Regions from separate parts of the Homo sapiens genome. Here all the other regions are linked to region 1. Evidence: promoter capture Hi-C in 16 types of primary human blood cells and fetal thymus (Javierre and others, 2016). All regions are on one chromosome and are shown on one strand. The core of a region is centred on a gene start or on the middle of the fragment in contact, and the rest is flanking DNA. Distances in the headings are between cores, read along the strand shown. Region 1 holds the start of LRIT2 (leucine rich repeat, Ig-like and transmembrane domains 2). Region 2 has its middle 220 kb from the start of CCSER2. Region 3 has its middle 250 kb from the start of CCSER2. Region 4 overlaps CCSER2 (coiled-coil serine rich protein 2). Region 5 has its middle 280 kb from the start of CCSER2. Region 6 overlaps CCSER2 (coiled-coil serine rich protein 2). Region 7 has its middle 300 kb from the start of CCSER2.

Region 1 (3,192 bases), core at 333-2,832:
AAAAAATTCTAGAATTCTAAAATACATAGTCCAGTGTTTTGCATCTAGAAGATTCCCAAAGACTATATCTGCTCATATAAAATTTTATAATATTTGCATAAGATATTAAATTAGCCCTGAAATATGTGTTTATATATGTGTATATGTTCTGTATGCAAAGAGATCTGTATGCAAACATTTAAAATAATGCCAATAGTGGAACACTACCTTGAAATCTTTTCTGTTCTAGTGAGCATAATTCAGGGCTATCCCAATCTTACTTGCACCCACCCTTCGTGACTGACCCAGCTTTGAATCTCTCTAATGAGGATGGGTTTGCTACAGACCTCTCCATTCCCTCCAGATACACTGAGAGGGTGCATGTGGCTTACCATCAAATTCTCTCCACATACTCAGGGGATAAGTCCATGCAATGGATGGTGAGGGGCTGGCCTGTGCCAAGCATCGCAGGGTCACATTCTGTCCTGCCCGGATGGTGATATTGGCACTGGGGGTTGAGATCTGTGGCTTCATGCAAGCACTAAGCTCAGTTTCATGAAAAAGCTGCCCTGCCTTGGACAGAGGGCCCTGACATATCAGGTAGGAATTCACCAGGATGACTGGGAGGGTAATGGACTTGACAAACTGGACAAGCCCCCTTAGGCGACAGTCACATACCCAGGGGTTGTCATGCAGGGCCACCACCAGGCTGGAGAGAATCTCAGCCCCACAGTCAGGCTGCCGGCATTTCTGGTAGGCTGGCCAGTTCAGGAAGACACTCTTGGATACAACTGTAAGCCTATTGGAGGATAGGTCAAGGTAGGTCAGGCTGACCAAGAATTGAAGAGCCAGCTCAGGGAGTGCATCAATCTTGTTGCGTTTGAGATCCAAGACCCTCAGGAGAGGGGTGGCACGGAACGCTGTCCATGGTACTGAGCAGAGCTTGTTCCCCTCCAGTCTCAGCTCCCTCAGTTCTGGCAGGTGTTCCAGGGCTCCTAGGTGGATCACACTGATATTGTTAAAATTGAGCCAGAGGTATTCCAAGGTGCTCATGTTGATGAAAGACCCTTGGGGCATCTCAAATAAGGGTGAATTTTCAATTCTCACTTGCTTGAACTCTTCAGAAAGGTTCCCAGGGATCTTTCCCAAGGAGACAGATGTGCACTGCAGAGTCCTGTACAAGAAACCAGAACAGCTTTAAGATAAACAACAGGGGACTGAAAAGTGGGGTCAGGCTGATCCTGGCATTAGACATGTGAATCAGAATAAAAATATTATTATTCATTGAAATAAAAGAGTTAGACTCATTTTGGTAAAAATGCACAGTTCAGCAAAGTTCAGTCCCAACTAGAATGAGTCTCATAGAGTTTTGCTGATTTCCTGCCAATTCTAAGCCTGCTTCCACTCCACATCATCCCCAAAGAAAACCCATTCCCCATAACCCTCTAACATCTGGCCAGCAGAGCGCACCTGCCAAAACTCTCCTCTGAGCAAGTGCATCCTGGCAGACAGAAAGGCTGAGCTGCGTGTGTATCCAGAAAGACCAGAACTAACAGGAAGTAATGAAAAACTGAAGCCATATTTCTCTGTAAGAAAATACGTTGTGAGTTTTGAATAAGTATCGCCCCAGCTTCCGAGTGGCAAATCCTATTATTGGTAATCCATGATGATGTAAGTCACACAGCAGCAGGAAAGCCCATGGGAGCTCTGAGGTCTGTTACAGCCCAGACCACAAGTTCAGTCAGAACACACGAAGGGGGATCAATGTCTCTTAACTAGGGTCAGGAAATTCAACATTTGTGTAATTCTTGAGTCTGAAAAGCAAACTCCAAGTCAGATGTCCAATTCCATACAGATTCTACATTTCTTAGAGTCTTAAACAGAAGTCTGAGAAACAAGCAGGCAGTGCTATTCTGAGCACCACTGTTCAGGGGATGTGGCCAGAATCCATCTAATGCTTCATCATTTGCAGTTGATTCCTGAAACCTAGAATTTCCAATCATTTTCTCAAAGTGAAAATAGGTGATGAGTAACAAAGTAATTCTGTGTTCATTCCTATCATTTGTTCTCTTCCCAACACCACGGGTGGTGTAGTCATGCTCCTACTGCATCAAGACAGCTGCTTCTGCAGCTTGGGTCACCAGTTTCAAATACAAGATGGTATTTTCTGATTAAACCAAAAGATTGTTTTCTTGGACTTCACAACCTTTCCTTAATACTGTGCATTTCACTTCATCAAAATGGGCAACCTACATTTTAAAAAGAGATGTATACAATTTTATATGCTTGCTCTTTCACTCTTCATTTATTCCACAAATATTTACTGGTCATTTGCTTTAAGCTATACTCTTGCCCAATGAAAGGAACAGGGTCAAGGGCAAACCTATTATAGACCCTGTCCCAAGGAGTCTTCTCTCTTGTTTGTGCTTCTGAATCTTGAGATCTTTGGAATGTAATTTAATCTCTGTGAGTCTTTTCTGTATCATGAGAATATTAACAAATACCTCATAGTGTTTCCAGGAATTTATTTCTCATTATTTTTTAATTTTTGTATTTTTTCAGAGACAGGGTCTCACTCTGTTGCCCAGGCTGGTCTCAAACTTCTCAGCCTCCCAAGTAACTGGGATTACAGGTGCAAGCCATTGCATCCAGCCATATTTTTAGAAAAGTTTGAGATTATGTTAAATACAACACCTAGCACACAGTTGGTGCCCATTAATCCTCCTCCCACTGACAAACTCTTTAAGATCCGAAAAGTCTACATCTCTATTAACTAGGGCACTTCCAGTTGAATATTGAAATTCCATGAGTTCCTTTAAGACTCATGATATACATTGTACCCTACAAAAGGCCTCAGGAAAGAAAATCCGCTTAGCTAACCAGTGAGGGGGGAAATGGGTCACCAGCTAAGCTGATTACACTCCAGGCTTTCCATCCAAGCCAGAAATATTTGCAGGAGTTTCCAAACAGTCTAACTCTAAAACCTGGGGGGACCACTGTGTTTGTCTAAAGGTAAAAATCCAAAACAAAGAGAGAGCTATCGGCACAAAGTTTGTCATACATATGGCTATGTGCTTCCTAGATCCCCCTTCAAGGTATAAGTGGATGCTCAGCTGCAAGGAGTGCTTGCATGAGGTCACGTCCTTCCCAAAGCAGCCACATCCCACATTCAGTGACTGAGGGTGGTGAGGGCCTGGCCAGTTTGCCCTGATG
Region 2 (3,171 bases), core at 361-2,860, 320 kb after region 1:
GAGTCTCTAAGCCTTGCTGACTTTGTTGCCAACAATTCTTCAAGAGGCCACCCTGAGATATCTGGAAGGCAGTAAGAAATCTGGTCACTTCTACAAAATGCCGGGATCCCAATCCCTTTCCCAAGGTGAGCCCATTAGCCGCAATCCTCAGGACTCAGTTAGACATTTAATTTCCAGTTTCTCCAAATCTTGCTCCCGTTCTGAGTCATTAAACAGGCTCCCAGGCTGTCTCCATTTGAACATGCACTTGGCCGAGGCAGCCCTGGGTGCTCTGCAGGGAACATACGCTAACAGCTCCCCTTCGAGCACTGCCTGGGAGAAGTGTGGAGCCCAATCCAGCCCTCATCACGTCCTTAATTTCCAAGCACCACTTGCAGCCATGCTGTGGCGAGAATTCAACTCTTACCTGCCTGTGAATGATTCTTTAAATAAATACAGTTTACACAAAGCTTTGAGAGGACAGGAATCATAGCTGACGTTGCCCAGTGTCCCAGCACCTAAAATGTACCTGGCACTTAGGAGGCCTCAATAGTGATTTATTTATTTATTTTGGAGACGGAGTCTTGCTCTGTTGCCCAGGCTGGAGTGTAATGGCATGCTCTCGGCTCACTGCACCCTCCGCCTCCTGAGTTCAAGCGATTCTCCTGCCTCAGCCTCCCAAGTAGCTGGGACTACAGGTGCCCGCCAACCTGCCCAGCTAATTTTTGCATTTTTAGTAGAGATGAGGTTTCACCATGTTGGCCAGGCTGGTCTTGAACTCCTGACTTCAGGTGATCCACCTGCCTTGGCCTCCCGAAGTGCTGGGATTACAGGCGTGAGCCACCGTGCCCGGCCTCAGTAGTGATTTATCTAAGAAATGGATGAAGGGACCAGAACAATTGACATTATCAAGGTGGCAATTCTCTTTGAGTTTATATAGAAATAACATTTATTCGAGTAAAATATTATGAGATAAATATCATCTTTTTTAAACATTTAATCTAATCATTTAAAAAATTTATCTAGAACATAGAAGAATAGCCACTGAAATCTTGATATGAAAAATTTCCAGATATTAAACCTTGCTTCAGATATTAAAACCTATTATAAAGGGACAATAATTGAAAGAATATGGTACTGGTATAGAAGTGGATATATCAGTGGACAATATTAAATTGCTGAAATATACCCAAGTAATGCAATAATTTAGTTCATAGTAAACATGGTGTTTCAAAAGGGTAGAAAATGATTATCCAGCCTCAAAGCGGGGAGTCTCTGAGCTCGGAGCTCTGAAGGGCCTTAGCAGTTTGGCGCCTTATAATTGCAAGACCCTATCTTATCAAGAGGTGACAGCTGTTGGGTGAGATGGGGGGAGTTTGCAAAGCTAGCAGTCTCTAAATGGATAAAAAAATTGCTTGTTTGAGCTATTTTAAAAATAATTGGATGTGTAAAAATTTTAGCTGGGTGCTGGCAGGCTTTTGAGCTAACAGATCTCAGCCTGCAGTGCAGAAATAAGCAATCCATGGGCTAATGTACAGAGGCCATCTTTGGCTCATTTATAAAACAAGTCCCTGTTGGCAACTTCAGCAGCTACAGCTGGTGGGATCACCTCCCCGCTCTCCAGAGGAGCTGTGTATAAAGGGACTCCATGATGCTTCCCAGTGAGAGTCCAAGGTGAGCAAGCAACTTCCCTTTCTGTGCGTTTTCCTACCCTCCTTTTTCCCATCAGCCTCTCATGATGGTCATGACAACAGGCAACATCTGAGCATTTTTTTTTTGCCAGGCACTCGGTCAGATGCTTTCATGGAAACCATCATCAAATACACAAAGCAAATTTATGAGGTAGCAAATTTATGTATCATCTCCATTCTACAAATGAGGAAAGTGGGCAGAGAGGGGCTGAACAACTTGCCCTAGGTTTCACAGAGAGCACAAAGCAGAGCTGGGTTCTGATCCTGCAGGCTAACTCTCCCCCAGTGCCCAATGCAGGTGGGCTTCCTCACCTGCACACCTCCGCTTCCCTCCATCCCTCACCCCTAGTTTGTTCTCCTCCTTTTGGTACAAGTGTGTTTCCTGTAGCCCTCTGCAAGGCCTCCTTCTGGTTCTAGTCCTTCCTTCCATATCAGTCAGGGTCCCCCTGGGAGACAGAACCACAGCACTTATTTGAGCAGAGAGTATTTTAATATAAAGAATTGTTTACTAGGCATAAAATTGTGAACTCCATAACTGAAAGGACATAAAAAAGACTCTAAACTATCACAGACGTGGTGACTGCAGGAAGCAGCACTCACACCTAGGGCTGGAGGAATAAGGGAAGAGAATGGAATTATTAAAACTCAAGGCTTGGGCAAAGCCCCTGGAACTGGAACTCAGATTGAGTAGGGAGTGATGGCTGGTGCTTGGGTTTCTGCAATGGGTGGGAGGGTAGATGGGATGAAAAAAACTGCAGAATGAATCCAGCTGCTGCTACAGGAAGGAACTGCCTTTGCTGGGGCGAAGAGGCATTGCTAGGGTGATGCTCATAAGAGCAGAAGCCAATGGGAAGGAGCAAGTTCTGCTCCATCCTCCAGCTCCCCAGTCTCCCTGAAGTGCCCCCTACTGGTAAAGTCCAACAGGGAGCAGCCGGCAAAGCAGAAACGTGGTTTGCAGCATCCTAGCCTCAGCGTCACTGAGCTGAGATAGAAGGGTGGGTTTGGAGCTGAGAGACAATAAGTAGTACACCTTTCTGTGGCCAAGGTTGAAGCCTTATCACTTAGACTTCAGGATATGCGCCTCAACCATTTCCTCTCTGCTAAGCTTTTGGGGAGCTCTGCTTCCAATTCCCACAGAGTTATTGTTCCTCTTCCATGGGGTACAGATGGCAGAGTGCCAGGGTCCCTCTCCAAACGGAACTGAGAAATGTACATACCTATTATGTCCTCTGCATGCAGGGCCTGAGACTCGGCCATGTACACATACCCACCCTGGGTACCTTGGAGTCCATATTCTGCTAACTGTAAGTCCCCGGCATTTAGCAAGTCCTTTCCCAGAGACACTCGGGCTGGCAGAGAGGGAGGACAGCTGAGGCCACGCTTCTGTCCCTTCCCTCCCCAGCCTGTCCAGCTCATTCCTGTCATACATGTTTGCCTGAGCGTGGCACTGACACCTCGTGGAGTTTGACCTTTCTAGAAATGAATAATTTGATTTCTCAGG
Region 3 (3,616 bases), core at 892-3,391, 350 kb after region 1:
AAGGAAAGAATAGTCTTTTCAAGAAATTTTGCTGGGACAACTGGATATCCACATGCAAAAAAAATGAAGTTGAACACCTTATCTCACACAATATATATATAACTAACATAAAATGGACCACAGATCTAAATGTTAGAGAAACTATTACACCCTTAGGTGAAAACATAGGGGTAAATCTTCATGACCTCGGGTTAGACAATGGTTTATTAAATATAGCACTGTAACTTGATTACCTCTGTAAAGAAAAAAATATAACACTAAAAGCATAAGCAACAACAACAAAAAATAGATAAATTAGATGTCATCAAAATGAAAAACTTATACTTCAAAGATACTATCCAGAAATTGAAAAGAGAACCCACAGAATGGGAGAAAATACTTGCAAATCATATGTCTGATAAGGGACTTGTATCCAGAGTCTATACAACTTAATAAACAGACAACTTTATTAAGCCATTCTTGTTTTGCTATAAGGGAATATCTGAGACCCACCCAGAGCAACTTTTACTCCTGCAAGCTCCATTCATGGTAAGTACCCTACACAGGTGTGCCATTTTTATCTTTTATACTGTATTTTTTACAGTTCCAGTTCTATGTTTGGATTCAGATACTTACCATTGTGTTATTTACAATTGCCTACAGTATTCTAACATGCTGTGCAGGTTTTTAGCCTAGGAGCAGCAGGTTATACCATATAGCCTAGGTGCATAGTAGGTTATATCATTTAGTGTGAGTACACTCTATGATGTCTGCACAATGACAAAATGGCCTAAAGACACATCTCAGAATATATCCCCATGGTTGAGTGATGCATGACTGTATATATGTGTGTGTGTGTATGTGTATACATATGTTTGTATATGTAGAATATATATGTGTATATATATGAGGGTAGGGGTAGGCTGTATTTAAGTATGCCAACAATTGAAACTTAGTGAGAAATAAATGTCTTCCAATTTTGAAAAAAAATGAGAGTATACAAGTATTTATATTAATGCTATATTTTTGAGAGTTTATTTAATCAAATAGTTTTGTGCTTTTTGAGAGCATGTTTCTTTAGTCAAGGACTTAAATGTTTCAAGAGATAAAGAGCTTCTTTTACCATGTGTGAGAACTTGGAGAAACTGTGGGAGAAATGAAAGTAAAGTATTAGAGAGGAGATAAAATAAATGCAGATGGTTGAATGAAATGCTGGAATCATGAGGATGGGCAGAACGTATTGAATGAAGAGAAGAATACTTGGGGAAGAGAAGAATGAAGAGTCCCTTAATACCAGTCAAATGAAAGTACTGGGTGTAAAATTATCAGCAAGCTGGAATGAGCAGAGAAGAACAAGGGAAATGGATGTTCAATCTAGAGACCTGCAATGCATGGTACTTGAGATAATAGCCAAACATACCCAATACCTGTAGAACTCTCTCACTGATAACTATTGAGATCGTTTGGAGCTGCGTAAGTTTCACAAGCTCCAACTCGTCAAATAATGAAAGGCATGAAGGGAAAATATTCAATGTGTTTATTATTTCTCTGCCTCCCCGACATGCACTCTTTCCTAGCTTGATATTCTACATTTAATGTTTTGTGACCTTTAAGTTTCCCACACAACAGAAGCCACTTCAGACCAAACATTGTTAATGGGCTTGTTCTCTACTGCCAATGACCAGAAGGCTGTCCCTGGCTTCCATTGGGGAAGAGGTGAATGAAGACCCAAGGTCAATGCTGCAGTACTAGTAGAAGTGACTAGTGGTTTCTGAACAGTCAGCAGACTGGACATCTGTGCATCTTCATGTTTTCTTTTAGGCAACTGGACAGTAAATGTTCCTCTCAAAGCTTTGGCAGCTGTGAGGATGGTTATTTTTGACTGTCTTTGAGATCACCCATGTGGGGTAGGATGCTGCTGCAGTCCACTACGGGGATGAGGCAGAGCTTGGCAAATCGTCTGTTGTTATTCTTCCTCCTCCATCTCCTCTTTCCAGTCTCCTCCTCCTGGTGGCCTTCTGGGCAATGTGTACTATGGGGAAGAAAGCAGCCCAGCAGCTCTGACAGAAGTATGAATCCCAAGTACTCCAAGGCTCAGGGACTCTGTGCAGGGCCAGTATTGAGTGACAATCTTGAGTGAGGCCAATCAGTATTACATCTATTGTCTCCTAACCAGTCCTCAGATGGTCTGTGCCAAGTGCCTAAGAAAAGGGGGTGTCAAATCATCTGAAACTGTGAGACAAATAAAAGAGCTATAAGGAAAAGGCACTCACAACCCCTATCTCTCACCATATAAAAATAAACTCAAAATGGATTAAAGACTTAAACGTAAGACCTGAAACTGTAAATCTACTAGAAGAAAACATAGGGGAAAAGCTCCATGACATTAGTCTGGGCGAAGATTACTTGCATATGACACCCAAAACACAGGTAACAAAAGTGAAAATAGACAAATAGGATTACATCGAACTAAAAAGCTTCTGCACAGCCAATGGAACAATCAGTAGAGTGAAGAGACAACCTGCAGAATGGGAGGAAATATTTGCAAACCACACTTCTGATAAGGAGTTAACGTCCAAAATATATAAAGAACTCGAACAACAGCAAGACAACAAATAATGAGATTAATAAATGGACAAAAGACTTGAATAGACATTTTTCAAAAGAAGACACACGAATGGCCAAATGTGTATGTAAAAATGTATGAAAAAATGCTCAACATCATGAATCATTGGAGAAATGCAAATTCAAGCCACAGTGAAATACGACTTCACATATTTTAGAAGGGCTTTAATCAAAAAGACAAAAGATAACAAATGTTGTTTAGGATGTGCAGAAAAGGGAACTCCTGCACATTGTTGGTGAGAATGTAGATTAGTACAGGCTTTCTGGAAAATAGCAGGGGGTCCCCCAACAAATTAAAAATAGAATTACCATATGATCTAGCAATTCCACTTCTGGGTATATATCCAAAGGAAATGAAATCCTTATACCAAAGAGGTATGTATACTCCCATGTTGATTGCAGCACTATTCACAATAGCCAAGATACAGAATCAACCTAAGTGTTCACCAGTGGATGAATGGATAAATAAAATATGTCTTATGTACACAATGGAATACTAGTCAGCCATAAAAAGGATGAAATCAGGCCGGGTACGGTGGCTCATGCCTGTAATCCCAGCACTTTGGGAGGTCGAGGCCAGCAGATCACGAGGTCAGGAGATCGAGACCATCTTAGCTAACACTGTGAAACCCCGTCTGTATTAAAAATACAAAAAAATTAGCCAGGCTTGGTGGCAGGCACCTGTAGTACCAGCTGCTTGGGAGACTGAGGCAGGAGAATGGCGTGAACCTGGGAGGCAGAGCTTGCAGTGAGCTGAGATTGTGCCACTGCACTCCAGCCTGGGTGACAGAGCGAGACCCCCAGTCTCAAAAAAAAAAAAGGATGAACTCCTGTCATTTCTAGCAAAAAGGTTGGAACTGGAGGTCATAATGTTAAAGTACGTCAGGGACAGAAAGACATATCCTGCATTTCACTTACATGTGAAACCTAAAAAAGGAGAGGGAGAATATGAAGATATTGGTCAAAGGGTACAAAATTTTAGTTACATGGGAGGTATACATTCAGGAGATCT
Region 4 (3,601 bases), core at 377-2,876, 270 kb after region 1:
TAGTTGTTGCTGTAGGCATTATATTTCACACACACATACATATATATTTAACTATATATAGTCTACTACATGTAGAAACTTTATGTCCTTTTAAGTCCCTTTTCCTCTCCCATTTATAAGTTTCTTAAATATTTTTTATGCGTATTTTAAGAAGTACATAAGAAAATGTCACAGCCATACAAGGGTGGAGGCCTACACTCCCCAGTCCTCCCTTTCTTTTTTCTTTTTTGAGACGGAGTCTCGCTCTGTCGCCCAGGCTGGAGTGCAGTGGGGTGATCTCGGCTCACAGCAAGCTCCGCCTCCTGGGTTCATGCTGTTCTCCTGCCTCAGCCTCCCAAGTAGCTGGGACTACAGGCGCCCGCCACCACGCCCGGCTAATTTTTTGTATTTTTAGTAGAGATGGGGTTTCACCATGTTAGCCAGGATGGTCTGGATCTCCTGACCTCGTGATCTGCCCGCCTCGGCCTCCCAAAGTGCTGGGATTACAGGCATGAGCCACCGCGCCCGGCCTTCCCAGTCCTCCCTTTCTGATGGGAATGGGGGCTGGGGCCACAGGTTTTTCTGTGGTGTTAGGTAGATTACTGGATACAAGTTTCCTGCATTGCTAGTCTTCCTCTTTCCTGATCCTTTGGCTAGAGTGTGCAGGCTTTCTTAAATTTTTTTTTTGTGTGTGTTCCTTGTCATTTCCAGGGGCTGGCTTCTCTATCACTCATTTTAGGATACATTAGGCAAAAAGAAAATCACCATATTTTTCCTTGGGTCCCAAGCTGGTCTCACTTTTTCTCTCTACCTTTCAGAATATTGTGTTTTATATATAGTGCCCAGGGTTTTTAGCTGTATTTGACAGCAGGAAAAGGGAGAAGTATGTCTACTCCATCTTTTCCTGAAACTGGAATTCCCTGTTCTATTAAATGCTGATCAGAGTATGTTATTTCTACTCTCTATAAGTAAATTGACAAGAAGCTAAGTAGTTGACACCAAGGAAAGTAAGAGAGCTATTATTTTCAGGGTGGTTATATTTAATAGAAGAATTTTTAAGATACTCAAATCAAAGTAATGAAAAGAGGAAGAAAGATTCCACCAATTGCTGTGGGTGTTTATAAACAAGAATGATCATAATTAATTTAGGCAGGATCAGGAAAAGCTTTTAGGAAATGGGTTTGAAAGAACCTAAGGGGGCTGGATAAGATTTTGACAGATGGGTAGAGAAGTGGAAGACGCATTGTAGGTGGCAGAAATAAAATGAGTAACATTCTTTGTCTTTCTGGGCATAAGCTCTGATGGCATACAACTGTTTGATAGGCTAATAGATGGGTGCCCCTTGGCGGTGGCAGGCAGCGCTGTTTATGTATTTATTTCACAAGGTTGTCTTTCCCTTCTTATACTCAGACCTATGCCAGAGATTATGATTTGTTGGTCTTGGGGAAATAAAGACAGATATCATTGTTTTTGGTTTTAAAATTTCTTAGGTGGTTATAGTGTGTGGCCGGGATTGACAGATGCTACAGCTGCATCTCTAGATAAACACAGTAAATTAATTTAATTTTGTTTAAATCAGTAAATAGTTAACTTAGTGTCTGCTACATGCTGGGGGAGTTTTAGGCTATAGAAGGTGGGACATCTAATATCTTTTAAAACTCCTGCGAACTTATAGGTACTGTGACAGATACTTTCACCTAAATTATTTCAGGAATTAATGATCTAGCAGGAGAGACAATTTAATACAAAGTTGATTGTTTTAAATGCCATATAAATAGAGTTACAAAATTAAAAATAGAGTTATAAAATTACTGGAGTGGAGATGGGGACAGATATGAGTAACTAAATTATAGGAACTAAAAGTAAGAGGGTTCTTCGAGATGAACCAGTCCAGCCTCTGCATCTGACAAATAAGGAAACTGAGGCTCAAAAATCAGTAATTTTCTCAAGGTTACAAGGCTTGGGAAAGATCCAAGGAAAAAAAGTTTCCCTGATTCCAAGGTCAGTGCTATTTCCACAGACCTGCAAAGGTAAACATACCTCTTTGGTGAAGGAAACAATGACTGTTTTCTTAAACATGTCTATGAAGTTACCATCTGAAAGTTTCTTTACTTAGTAGTACAGTGGGTAGAAGCTTGGTTCTGCAAAACGCATAGGGAGGATTTGGTTGAGAATTTGTTTAGTATAAATATAGCCTTTGAACCAAAACATTTCACAAACAGCATAACAGCAGGTAGTATCTATGGAGAGCATCTGGGGTCATCACCTTATTCAATGTTTTCTAAGCTGTTTTTGCCAAATTAGCAAAAGAAAAAAGTATAATAATTTCAAAAGATAAGATTTTTATTTACTAGAATATCCTAAAGATTGTTAATTTAGTTTTTGTGGCTTTTTTTTTTCCCTTCATCAACATAGAAAATGGATCTTTTATGTTTCTGTTTTATATTGAACAATGTGGGATCACCCTTAAATTTAAAGAAGTATTTGATTATACCTGAGTCAAAGAATGTTGATACGGAAAGTGAGAAAAATTTTTTTCATTTCAGACCCTTCATAAGATCTGTAAACACTGTTAAACTATTATCGTAATTTTTAATACAATATTATTTTTAAGTCAGATTAATTGGTCTGAAAAAATATACATAATTTCTTTTGCAGATTTAACTGGGTATGATCATGATTTATAGGCTGATTTTCCTTAATGATATTTTAAGAGTGTTTCAGTAGATTTTTTTGTGCATATGTTTCAGTCAGTAAGGAGGCTAAGGACATAAGACCCAATATGGTTCCCTTTGTATAACATTGAACAGTTACTTTCTTGAAAAAAGTTTTTTCTGTAAAGTGAGGACATTGAAGTAAATGACATTTCAGGAGTATCGTAGTTCTGATAATCTGTGATTAAAATAAGTAAAGCTAAAAAGCCACAAGTTATTGAAATTAAAAAGCATGTCCACGTAACCAGTGGCCTACATGTCACATTACAACATCCTGAATCTTTTTTAATGCTGTGTTGGTTTTGCTAACTTTAGCTAATGTTCTTTATTTTTACCTGCTAATCCTCTGAAAACCTGTGATTTAAGAAGAAATTTTATTTTTTTTTGAGACGGAGTCTTGCTCTGTTGCCCAGGCTGGAATGCAGTGGCGTCATCTCGGCTCACTGCAACCTCCACCTCCCAGGTTCAAGCAATTCTCCTGCCTTAGCCTCCCGAGTAACTGGTTTTACAGGTGGCTGCCACCACACCTGGCTAATTTTTGTAGTTTTAGTAAAGACAGGGTTTCACCATTTTGGCCAGGCTGGTCTTCAACTCCTGACCTCGTGATCCACCCGCCTCATCCTCCCAAAGTGCTGGGATTACATGCGTGAGCCCACTGCACCCGGCCGAAATAAAAATTTTTAGATGATAATTTTTTTGTATTGCCTGATTCACAAATTGGTGCATTTTCTGTGTGTTTAACACCTAAAGTCTATCTCCCCCTTTAAATTCCTTCTTTTTCTGCAAAAGACTGGAATCTGCTACTTTAACAAGAGATATATGATGATAAATGTAATGTATACCGGAAAGAATATATTATTTCTTGTACATTGTACTACAAATATTAGAGGAAAATAATTTTTTAAAAA
Region 5 (3,125 bases), core at 452-2,951, 380 kb after region 1:
AGTTGCCCAACTGTCTTCTTAAATGAGGCAAGGGCCAAGATAGTCACTAGATGATTCGAGCCCTCTGTCCATTTCTCATGTGGCAGAGACCCTGCTTATTTTTCCTCTCCGGGTCTGCTTTGAGGCCTGGTTGTGGAAAGGGGGCTTCTAGGTAGCATAGAGCCAAAGCATTCTCTTTCTGAAGTCCATAGTTGCCTTGGGAGAGGGCATGTGATGGGGACAGTCTGTGAGTAATTGAGATTGGCTAGATGACAAAGCAGGCAGTCTCCTCCCATTTGACTTCATAGTCTAAATAACCGTTGTTCCTTTTAACCCCACTGCAATGACTTAGTTCAGGCTAGAACTTTTATAAGAACCTTTATATAACTTAGGACTTTTTGGTTGTAAGTAATAGAAACTAAACTTGCAACCTTAACAACAAAAAAGAAATGCAGAAATGTATCAGACTCTCCTTCCAACCTCATGGAATGGGAAGGAACGCCTAAAGTTGGACTTCCAGAATGGACCCAGAGACAAAGGCCGTGCAGAGTCCAGACAGTTCTCACTGGTGACCTCTCTTTGTTCCCCTCTTTGCTTCTTAATTTCTTGCAGAATAGCTCCCTCTATGCCCTAGTCAGCCTAGCAAGTAAAATCACAAGCTTCTCTTTTTTCCTGGGTTGCAGACCAGTGTCCCCAGGGAGATGGAATTCACCTTTTTTTGGTTCCCGATGCCAAGTTCCCAGGAGTGGAAGTCATTGGCCATCTCAGGCCAGATTCCCAGGCAGGCCTGAGTCTGCAGAAGGCCCTGGGAAACCCAGTTTGCATAAATTCTCATTTCTGATTTCATTTTCTGATTTCTGCACCAGGGCAGAATAAATATATACCTCTTACTCCACGGCAGATTCCTACTAAAGTGCTGAGTGGCTGAGCACACAAAATGCCCATTGCAATCCCCAGTGGTCCTTCTGCCTTGGCACTCTTTCCTGCACTGCCACAGGCATCTCTCTAAGACCAAGCCTGTGCTTAGGGGCCTAGCTGGCTCTATTTGCCAAAAGGAGGAATTTCTACCTCCCTGGCACTGCCGACAAGGCAGTTCAGCTCTAAGCATCTTACTTTCTGGCCAAAGACCTCAAATGCCCTCCTTGTGTGTTTGCTCATGCTGTTGGCTTTGCGCAAAATGCAAACCTTTCTCTCTTCTGTTTGATCACTCTTCATCTTTCTGGAAGCCCGCTCAGACACAGCTGTTTGTGGGCAGCCTTCCCAGGGACAGAAGCTACTCTTCCTCTGCTATCCCATGGGACAATGTGCAGATCTCCCCACTAATCCAATGTGGTGTCAGGTGCCCCTCTCTCCCAATGGAACTTGTTGTCTAGGCGGGGCTGTCCCCTCTAGAAAGTGCTTACATGTTTGTTAAAGCAAGAAATGAGTAGACAGGTGCAGTTGTTACAGTGTCACTTGTGGTCCTGGGTGCCAAGACAGGGCTAGGAGAGTTTTCTGATTAAAACTCAGAGGTGAAGCCTGTCACCCAGCAGGCTTATGTTTTAGGACTGGGTTTGGGTTTGGAGGTTGCAGAGCTGAATGCTGCAGACCAGCTGGGGAAGGAAGGGTCGGCTTCAGGCTGTAGCCTGTGCCTTCTCCAGGGAAATTCAGGCGACGTGAGAATGGAGAACTGGAGGGCAGACACAACAAACCCGGCTGCCCACGCCGGGAGGAGGAGTTTTCCCCAGGTGCACTCCCTCTTGCTGTGAGGCTCCAGCCAGCTCTGTGGAAGGGAGACTTGCTCCAGCCCCATGCCCTTTGAAGTGTGCATGAAACTGGGCAGTGTGAGCAGTTTTCAAGCCACGCTCAGGTTTTAAATATTTTTGCCCCTCATTGTAAAGCGATGCATGTCTATCGTGGAAAAGTTGTGAAATACTGAAAAGTCAAAAGAAGAAGAAAAGGCACCCATCAGCCCCTCATCCAGGAATAACCCCTAATTAAGCAATTGGATTTTCCTTTCTGGCTTTTTTCTGTGAATTTCTTCACAATGTTGATCTCATGTTATGATGACCACATTGTGTCCTTTGTTATTGTTGTTTGTTTTACATATAAGCATTTATTTCTGTGGCCATGAAATATAATTTTTAAGGGTTTTGTAATATTCTATTTCTGAGCAAGTCACAATTTGCTGAACAGTTTTAGGCCGGGATTTTAAGTATGTTCACAGCAACGCAACCACCCTTGGGACATGAAGAAAGGGTGGTGGTGGTCAGGACCACGCTGATTCAGGAGGGTGCCCGGAGGTGGCCCAGGATCCCACAGCATCTGGTTATGCCCTGACTGTGACTAAGAATGAAACCAGATGAAAGAGCTGACACAGAAGAAAAGGTACAAATCTGGGTTACAGGAGGATGTAGGTTTGCATTCTGTTTGTCAGTTTTACTGGTTGCAGGACTTAAAGCAAGTTATTCTAGCCTGCTGGGCTTCAGTTTTTTAGTCTAAAAAATGGGGTGATAAATAATTGACTCAAAGGATTGTGCTAAAAACATAAAGTATATCATAGGCAACATGGAAGTGTTTAAATATATAACTAAAAATACACTAAATATGTAATATGTGCTGTATGGTATAATTTCATCCTATATAAATAGAATATAGAAAATATGGTGTAAGCCCTGGAAAACAGATGTAACTTATGTGAGAGAATATAGAAAGGCCTCAGAACAGTGTTTAGCACAGAAAATAGGTCCTAATATCTGTTAGAATGAGGAGTGCTCCTTTTTGACTTAGCTGAAATGATGCATGAACAAGCTTGTTTGGAATCACTGCTGTTTCATGGACCAAATTTAACAGAGGAGGAAGGCCAGGAAAGGCCAAGTCAGTGAGCTTGGCAGTACCTGACCTCGTCTGGTCATTTCTCTGCAGAGCTAACTCAAGCTCTCAGCTGCTTTGTTGAGCAGGGAGAGCATTTGATGGTTTTTCCCAATTTCCTCAAACCCATGACCTCCCATTTCATTTTCCAACTGGCCATTTTCAAAGACTGAAATTATGGTTTTGTGTTTTGCTGTTGGCTCTCTGAATTGCAGAAAAAGCTTTGAAAAATGTACTAGCTTCTGCCTGGTGGCAGAGGAGCTGGGTTGCCCTGGCACACACTAGAGGGATTATCT
Region 6 (3,557 bases), core at 876-3,375, 290 kb after region 1:
GTTTTTCCCATTGATTTTAAGTCAGTTTAGAGTACAAACTGTATATTAGAATTTGCCTGTAAAATGAATTCTAAAAAGCAGATGTAAAGTCTCTCCTGAAAATGTTGGCATAGTAAATAAAAATAAAGTTCATAATTATAAAAGTTCTCTTGTCTTTCTCAACATTGACTCCCATAGTTTGCTTTTTCTTTGATATCTTTTTTCCCACAAAGATCTAAGATACTGTTCATTTGCTTATGTTTTTCCCAACTCTGATACTTTATTTTACATGCTGCCTTCACACACATCTTGACACCCCAAGCCCTGATTGAGTAGGAGTTGATCAGTATTTTGTTGTTGTGTCTTCACAAATTCTGTAAGAGATCTAGTACTTTCGTTTCCATTGTAATAAAATACCTGCTTTATCTTAGAATATTGGGATAATGGTTAATGGACATTTCAAGAAACATTAGCACCTTGGATTTAGAATGCTGTACAAGGAAGAAAACACTTGTAATTTTAATTATTTTGTCATTGTTTTTAAGCAGTATACAAAATAGCTTGAGGCAAGAAAGGTGTTTAGTGAAATTTTACATAATTTTTAGGAACAAAAGGAGTAAGGAATATATATTTTTTCAGTTTTACAGTTTAGTCAGATGCGATAGTCCCGTAATAAGAGACAAAAAAGTTGATGCAGTGGTATGTTATTAATCCAAAATGTTTACACGAATTCTGGGAAAGGAGGGAAATTTTATTAATAGTTTGATAATAGCACTTATTACCTCTTAAGACACCTGTATGAACTTTAAGGCCATCTGAGTTCTTAGTGTTGCAGAATTTTGCTCCTTAGGTCGGCTAAATCGGGGTTCTTGTGTCAGGACCAGGAAAATGTAGACACATGGACACATTGAAGTGTGTGGGGAATGGAATTCATTGGGCAAAAAGGAAAAAAAAACTCAGCAAAGCAAGGGGGGAATCCTGCTAACAGGCCCCCACCTCACAGATAAGTTCCAGGCCACCACACATGTGAGCTGAAGAGCTCAGGCTCTTCCCTCCTGCCCAAGGCTGGAACTTCCCGTGGCTCCACCCAGTTCTCCCAGTGCACAAGCTGGTTGGAGATTCTCTGAGGACCCTCCCCCTTATTGGCCTTCTGCATCTATCATTAGCAAGTACTTTCTTATACTAAAAATTTTCCCTTTTAATTTTGTCATTAAGTGTAGTCATTTCAGTTTCTTCATTTATGCTGTTGATTGCGCGTTTTCCATTGTGAAAATATTTTATCCCTACAGAAAAGACAAGCATGAGTTAAAGAATTGACTTCTTCCTCTGTTAACTTGGTTTAAGTAAGTTTGATGGGATGTCTTACCTGTGTCACTTGCTGTGCTGGCTGCAGGGTGTACAAAGGTAACGATGATACAGGTTCTGCCTTATGGAGCTTAGGAACCCTAGGGGATTTTTAACATCATCCGATCCATTGCAGCACTGAGCCCTTCCCTTGCATTCCCTGTTTATTATCTTCCTTTGAACCTACCAGTCTCTTTTGACGTTTCCTCTTCAGTTTCATTTCATTCTGGGCTTTAACTCCCTTGCACTATTCTCCTCTTGGATTCTATATTATGTTTATTCTTGTTTGGTTGCATGCCTTCATTTCCCTAGAAAACCTGGCCTTTTATTATTTTATCCAAGAACGAACTTCCTCTTTAGCCACTATTAAATACTCTGCTTTCTACTTTAGGTTCTTGGAATTTGATTTTAAGACTTCTCGACTATCCTAAGGCCACTGTCCCTTTTAGAACCTCAACCCATAAGATGTTGCTTTCTGAAGTCTACCTTTAACATTCAAATTCATGTCCGGGCTTTTCCTTCCATCCCATTCTCTTGGATAGATCAAATATAATATGGTCTACTTGATGTTTTCAGTTTCTATTTTAATTTTTAATTTTTATGGATATATAATAATTATACATATTTATTAAATACCTGTTATTTCGATACAAGCATACACTATAATCTGTGTAATTGGGATATCCATTGCCTCATTTATTTCTTTGTGCTAGGAATATTTCAATACTACTCTTCTGGTTATTTTGAAATATACAATAAATTATTGTTAACTATGGTCACTGTACTGTGCTACTGAACACTAGGTCCTATTCATTCTAACTGTATTTTTGTACCCATTAACCATCCCCTCTTTATCCCACCTCCCCACCACCCTTTCCAGCCTTTGGTAACCACTATTCTACTCTCTACCTCTGTTAGATCATTTCTTTTTTATCTTCCACATGAGTGAGAATGTGCAACATTTGTCTTCCTGTATGTGGCTTATTTCACATAATGACCTCCAGTTTCATTCATGTTGTTGCTGGTTTCCTACCATTTCTTGCCATGGAGTCTCTAAGGAGGAATTTAGGTCATCCAGAGAAGCCTTTTCCTCACTGATGAATTCTCCCACCCACCCATGCACACAGCCCTCAAATTAGCATCTTTTCTGTGCAAAAATCAGAGAGGAAGAAACAGTTCCTCACAGGCACTTCTCTGGTTTCTCAACCTGAAAAATGGTATTGCTACTTTCCAGATCTCAAAACAACCCACTCCTTAATCCTCACATGAATTCATTCAGACACCCATTTTGAGTATGAATAATCCTTTGGTAATACTTTAAGTGATTACAGAACAAATGCTTTCTGCAGCAAAAGTATACCTGAAATATCAGTCTACTAAAGTGAAAGGTAACTATTCCCCACAAGAAACATGGTTGAAATGCTTGTTTTGTGCACAGCCCTCGTTTCTGTCTCGTGGCAGGAGGTGGATGAGACGGAGACCCTGCGATTGAAGAGATCAAATTGCAACATGACAAGAAGGATCCCAAACAAAGCACTGTAAGAGAGCCAGTGGGCAGGAAGGGGACGTTTGGGACCACAGGTGAACTCGCTTCCAAAACCATTCATCCTTGACAAATGTGCATGTGTGTTAGGATTTCTTTTTAATTACAGCTAAATAAAAACTAGGCCACTATCACATAACCTGTAGTGGTAACGATACATTCCACGAACCTGAGGCCTTTTTAAGCACGTATCAGTTCAAAATACTTCTGAATTATCAGGAATTTAAAAAATTTTCACAAGTTTTAGCTGAGGTTTTGCATTTATAGTAGGTCAAGTGCAAATGTGAATTGCAATGAAAAACAAAAGTAATAGGAGTTGTGATGGATTGTTAATGCAAATGGTTTCTTAAATTGTGTTCCAGAGTTTTGCTGAGATGCAAACACAGATGCTCTAAACTCCCTGCTGCCAGGGGCCGCCTCCACCAGGTTCAAAGATTCAGGACTAGTCAGAGCTCACAGGAGGTGTTTGGGAAAGGGTTTGGGCCAGACCTGGGCACTCAGAACCCTGGTCCTTGGTCTGACTACTCTCATTCTAAGAAAAATTTCAACTAAGGGAAGGAAAGCAGAGCACACAGTGCTTTCCTGCCTTTCAGAGCTCGTAAAGAATTCAAGGGGGAAGCAAAGGAGACCATGGACTTAGAACTATTTGTGAATATTACAAGAAGCATTACTGAAGTCACAGAACAAACCA
Region 7 (3,350 bases), core at 704-3,203, 400 kb after region 1:
GAGGACACACGCTCTGCCGTTCCAGGTCTCTCCTACACCAAGGAGAGATTAAATCTCGTTTTGACAAGGACTCCTCTTATGATGGTCTTATAGGCACCTTCTGTGGTGGTTGGTGGCTGAAGGTGTTGCATCACCTGTGAATGATTTCAAACAGAGAAGAAGCCAGCCATTTTCAAATACACTCCTATTTAGAGCCAGAATCCTACAGACAATAAATAGTGGGGCAGGCATTTTCATCTCAGTCTCTGTATCCCAAGCGGACACTACTTCACTGCTACTACTCAGAGGCTCAAAGTTCTCAAGGGAGATGCTTTCAGTTTGGTTTTGCAGTAAACTGTCAACCCTGCAGGCCTAAGCTGGAAGGCAAAGCCCCAGGGCTCATTCAAGCAGGTACCCGCATAACCCCAGGCCTCCTGCTGTCCTTCTGTTTGGAGTTTTTTTTTTTTTTTTGAGACGGAGTCTCGCTCTGTCGCCCAGGCCGGACTGCGGACTGCAGTGGCGCAATCTCGGCTCACTGCAAGCTCCGCTTCCCGGGTTCACGCCATTCTCCTGCCTCAGCCTCCCGAGTAGCTGGGACTACAGGCGCCCGCCACCGCGCCCGGCTAATTTTTCGTATTTTTAGTAGAGACGGGGTTTCACCTTGTTAGCCAGGATGGTCTCGATCTCCTGACCTCATGATCCACCCGCCTCGGCCTCCCAAAGTGCTGGGATTACAGGCGTGAGCCACCGCGCCCGGCCCTGTTTGGAGTTTTAAAACATTAGTCTTATATCTGGGATGGGTGTTTTTCTAGGCCAGAGCAAGAATGGCATGTGGTGGTGAGCTTAGAGGCTTTGTATTTATGCAGGAAAGAAAATGCTGGCACTTGGAGATCACAGGAAAGCCAGGTGAGGTCTCATTTGTTCTAAGTAACAAGAAAAATGTGATTGTTTTTCCAAGTTCTAGTCCCTTTGGGTAATTACATCCAATGTTGTCTTCTCCAAGATCAAAGGGTGACTCTTTGGATCTGCGTTGCAAATGAGTTACTATACTTTGCAAGCTAAGTCACCACTGCCTAGGTTGTTGTGAGATGGGGCAGGTATACCAGGAGCGCTTGGTCTCAGAAGGATGACACAACAAACCCAGTGAAGCTGGAGACGCATCTTTCAAACAAATTGGTGAGGAAAAGAAGGGTTTGAGAATGGGACAGAGGACACAATCACTGTGCACACTGTGCACAGACATCCCAAGTAGGGAGGAGATTTTCAAAAAAATTCAGCTCTGAAGCTGTTGTTTTATATCGAAGGTAGGTCCGTCAACAACCCTAATCCTCCACCCCAATGTAGCAGCCAAAAGGAGAAGGTGTTCTGTTGCATATATTTGCAGAATGGTTTGGAAGGAAGTCTTGTTCCTGAAGTTCCAGTAATTGCAAGCATCTGTCACTAACAAATAGAAAATGGAAATAGCTCAAGAAATAGACTTACACTTGCTGAAGTTAATGCTTGCAAGGCTAAACTTGAAGCAATTTTAGACACAGAGTACAAAGAGTCTGCAATGAGTATATCAACCCTGATAGAGGAGAGAGTCCAATGTAGTACAGATCAGTGAGGAATGTGTGTGTAGGGGTGGGGGGTGGTACATCTGTGAGGGTGTATTCTTGTGGTCTAAGCCATGGCAAGAATGTTATAAATGTAGGCATCATTATGCTCATTTGACCAGTAGGAAATCTGATGCCCGGAGAATTGAGCCAACTTGTTTCTGTCATAAATTGAATCCATGTCTGTAAGAATTCAAACCACCTTGTCCATTCATGGATGGGGGTTGGATGCACCCCGGAGGTGGACCGGGGGGCAGGCCAACCAGACACCTGAAGAAGAGGTTGTTGAGAACGTTAGCAGGGCAGACACCTTCCTCAGCCTCTCTTTGCATACTTATTATGTATACTATTATGCACATCAGCAAAACCAATATTTCTCACACCGTGTTCTTAAGATTATTACTGTGTTACTAGTACCCCATGAAATATTAGGAAATATCCTACAAAGGGCTTCTTTGCCCAGAGAAATTTGGGTTAAAAGATGATCCTTTTACAGGAGGACTTGTCCAACCTTTTAATAGGCTGTCGTGCGTGACGAAGAGGAGATAAAGTATATCACGTTTCCTAAATTTACTGGATCTTATTGCCCGCCCCCCCCCCCGCCCTGTTTAGTGGATGGTCTCTATAGCTATAGCTATATTTATATATTAGTCTCCTTCATTTAGTGAATTGTATATGTAGTTCATTCTGTAAAGTGGGCTTAGGTCTTTTTATTTTTATTTTTCTTGAAAACGTTCTGCATTACAAGAGCTTCTACACTTTGTACAGCTCAGAATTTTGTTGGCAGCATGCACAGAATGGCAGAGAAGTGCAGGGAAAAGGGCCTAGACTCTGGGAGTTTGCAGATTGAGCTGCGGGGAGCAGGATGCACAGCCTGAAGAAGGAATGTATCTAGAGAAAAGGATGAGGGAGTAGTAATCCAGACAAGGGGAGAATGATAAGGCAACTAGGAGAATGAGATTCTTGCAGTAAAGTGGAGAATAAATGGACAGGCCAAAAATATGAGAGAGGGTGAGCCTGCTGTACTGTTTTCCTCCATTTCCCTGCAAAGAATCATGTTCGAACTGCTTCTTACTGCTGGGCACCACATAGGCTGGTGCCCAGCAAGAGTGCAGTTAAATAATCTGGGGCTTTGCGGCCAAACAGATTTGCATTCAAATCTTGCTCACTAATTCCTGGTTTGTGAGTTTGAGTACATTCCTTCAACTCATCTCGTGACTGCTAAGAACTGTTGAGAAGTTTCAAGGAGGTAATGCATCTGTGATGGTTAATGCTGAGTGTCAACTTGATTGGATTGAAGGATGCAAAGTATTGTTCCTGGGTGTGTCTGTGAGGGTGTTTCCAAAGGAGATTAACATTTGAGTGAGTGAACTGGGAGATGCAGACCCACCCTCAATCTGGGTAGGGACCATCTAATCAGCTGCTAGCATAGCTTGGGACTCAGAGTACCTTTCATCTGTCATAGGCTTTGCTTTACTTTCCTCTTTGCCTTCCGGCTCTCTGGCCTCTTTTCTTTCTCTAAGTCTCTTCCTTTCTCTATTTCAGGCTTAGGAATTGTTTAAACCTTGATTGTGGATAAACTGCTTCCTTATAACTGAGAACTAATTGTTCCTAAGCAGATTAGAACTGAAATTGGAAGCTGGGTGAAAGGTGCAACTCCCCACACCATGTTACCACGCCTCCCGGAGGCTGTCTCACGGGCCAGGCATGCAGCACTCCTCCTCTGGGTCTATGGCTGCTCTTCCTGGTAGACCTATTTTGCTTTGCAACATTATA

The links. The method cuts DNA at HindIII sites, captures the fragments that hold promoters and counts their contacts. A CHiCAGO score of 5 or more calls a contact.
Region 2: a contact is called between a fragment that was not itself captured here and the fragment with the promoter of LRIT2 in region 1, in 8 of 17 cell types (total CD8 T cells, non-activated CD4 T cells, activated CD4 T cells and 5 more). The highest score is 9.4, in total CD8 T cells.
Region 3: a fragment that was not itself captured here is called in contact with the fragment with the promoter of LRIT2 in region 1 in 1 of 17 cell types (activated CD4 T cells); the score reaches 6.4 in activated CD4 T cells.
Region 4: a fragment that was not itself captured here is called in contact with the fragment with the promoter of LRIT2 in region 1 in 1 of 17 cell types (total CD8 T cells); the score reaches 6.3 in total CD8 T cells.
Region 5: a fragment that was not itself captured here is called in contact with the fragment with the promoter of LRIT2 in region 1 in 1 of 17 cell types (non-activated CD4 T cells); the score reaches 5.3 in non-activated CD4 T cells.
Region 6: a contact is called between a fragment that was not itself captured here and the fragment with the promoter of LRIT2 in region 1, in 10 of 17 cell types (neutrophils, activated CD4 T cells, total CD8 T cells and 7 more). The highest score is 12.4, in neutrophils.
Region 7: a contact is called between a fragment that was not itself captured here and the fragment with the promoter of LRIT2 in region 1, in 1 of 17 cell types (non-activated CD4 T cells). The highest score is 5.0, in non-activated CD4 T cells.

Annotation. Positions count from the first base shown.
Region 1 is chr10:84,223,962-84,227,153 of GRCh38, forward strand. LRIT2 (leucine rich repeat, Ig-like and transmembrane domains 2) reads right to left here and starts at 1,583. Exons shown (of 3, transcript NM_001017924.5): 1 at 1,450-1,583; 2 at 372-1,153. The coding sequence starts at 1,559. The HindIII fragment of the contact is 7,130 bases long and covers 1-3,192 here.
Region 2 is chr10:84,546,494-84,549,664 of GRCh38, forward strand. No RefSeq gene overlaps it. Among named protein-coding and RNA genes, the nearest start is that of CCSER2, 220 kb to the left of the region's middle. The HindIII fragment of the contact is 2,326 bases long and covers 448-2,773 here.
Region 3 is chr10:84,578,209-84,581,824 of GRCh38, forward strand. No RefSeq gene overlaps it. Among named protein-coding and RNA genes, the nearest start is that of CCSER2, 250 kb to the left of the region's middle. The HindIII fragment of the contact is 626 bases long and covers 1,829-2,454 here.
Region 4 is chr10:84,496,075-84,499,675 of GRCh38, forward strand. The region is part of intron 9 of CCSER2 (coiled-coil serine rich protein 2); the gene reads left to right. Among named protein-coding and RNA genes, the nearest start is that of CCSER2, 170 kb to the left of the region's middle. The HindIII fragment of the contact is 969 bases long and covers 1,143-2,111 here.
Region 5 is chr10:84,606,028-84,609,152 of GRCh38, forward strand. No RefSeq gene overlaps it. Among named protein-coding and RNA genes, the nearest start is that of CCSER2, 280 kb to the left of the region's middle. The HindIII fragment of the contact is 2,131 bases long and covers 637-2,767 here.
Region 6 is chr10:84,518,375-84,521,931 of GRCh38, forward strand. CCSER2 (coiled-coil serine rich protein 2) reads left to right here. Exons shown (of 10, transcript NM_001284240.2): 10 at 1-143. Among named protein-coding and RNA genes, the nearest start is that of CCSER2, 190 kb to the left of the region's middle. The HindIII fragment of the contact is 4,470 bases long and covers 1-3,557 here.
Region 7 is chr10:84,623,631-84,626,980 of GRCh38, forward strand. No RefSeq gene overlaps it. Among named protein-coding and RNA genes, the nearest start is that of CCSER2, 300 kb to the left of the region's middle. The HindIII fragment of the contact is 7,132 bases long and covers 1-3,350 here.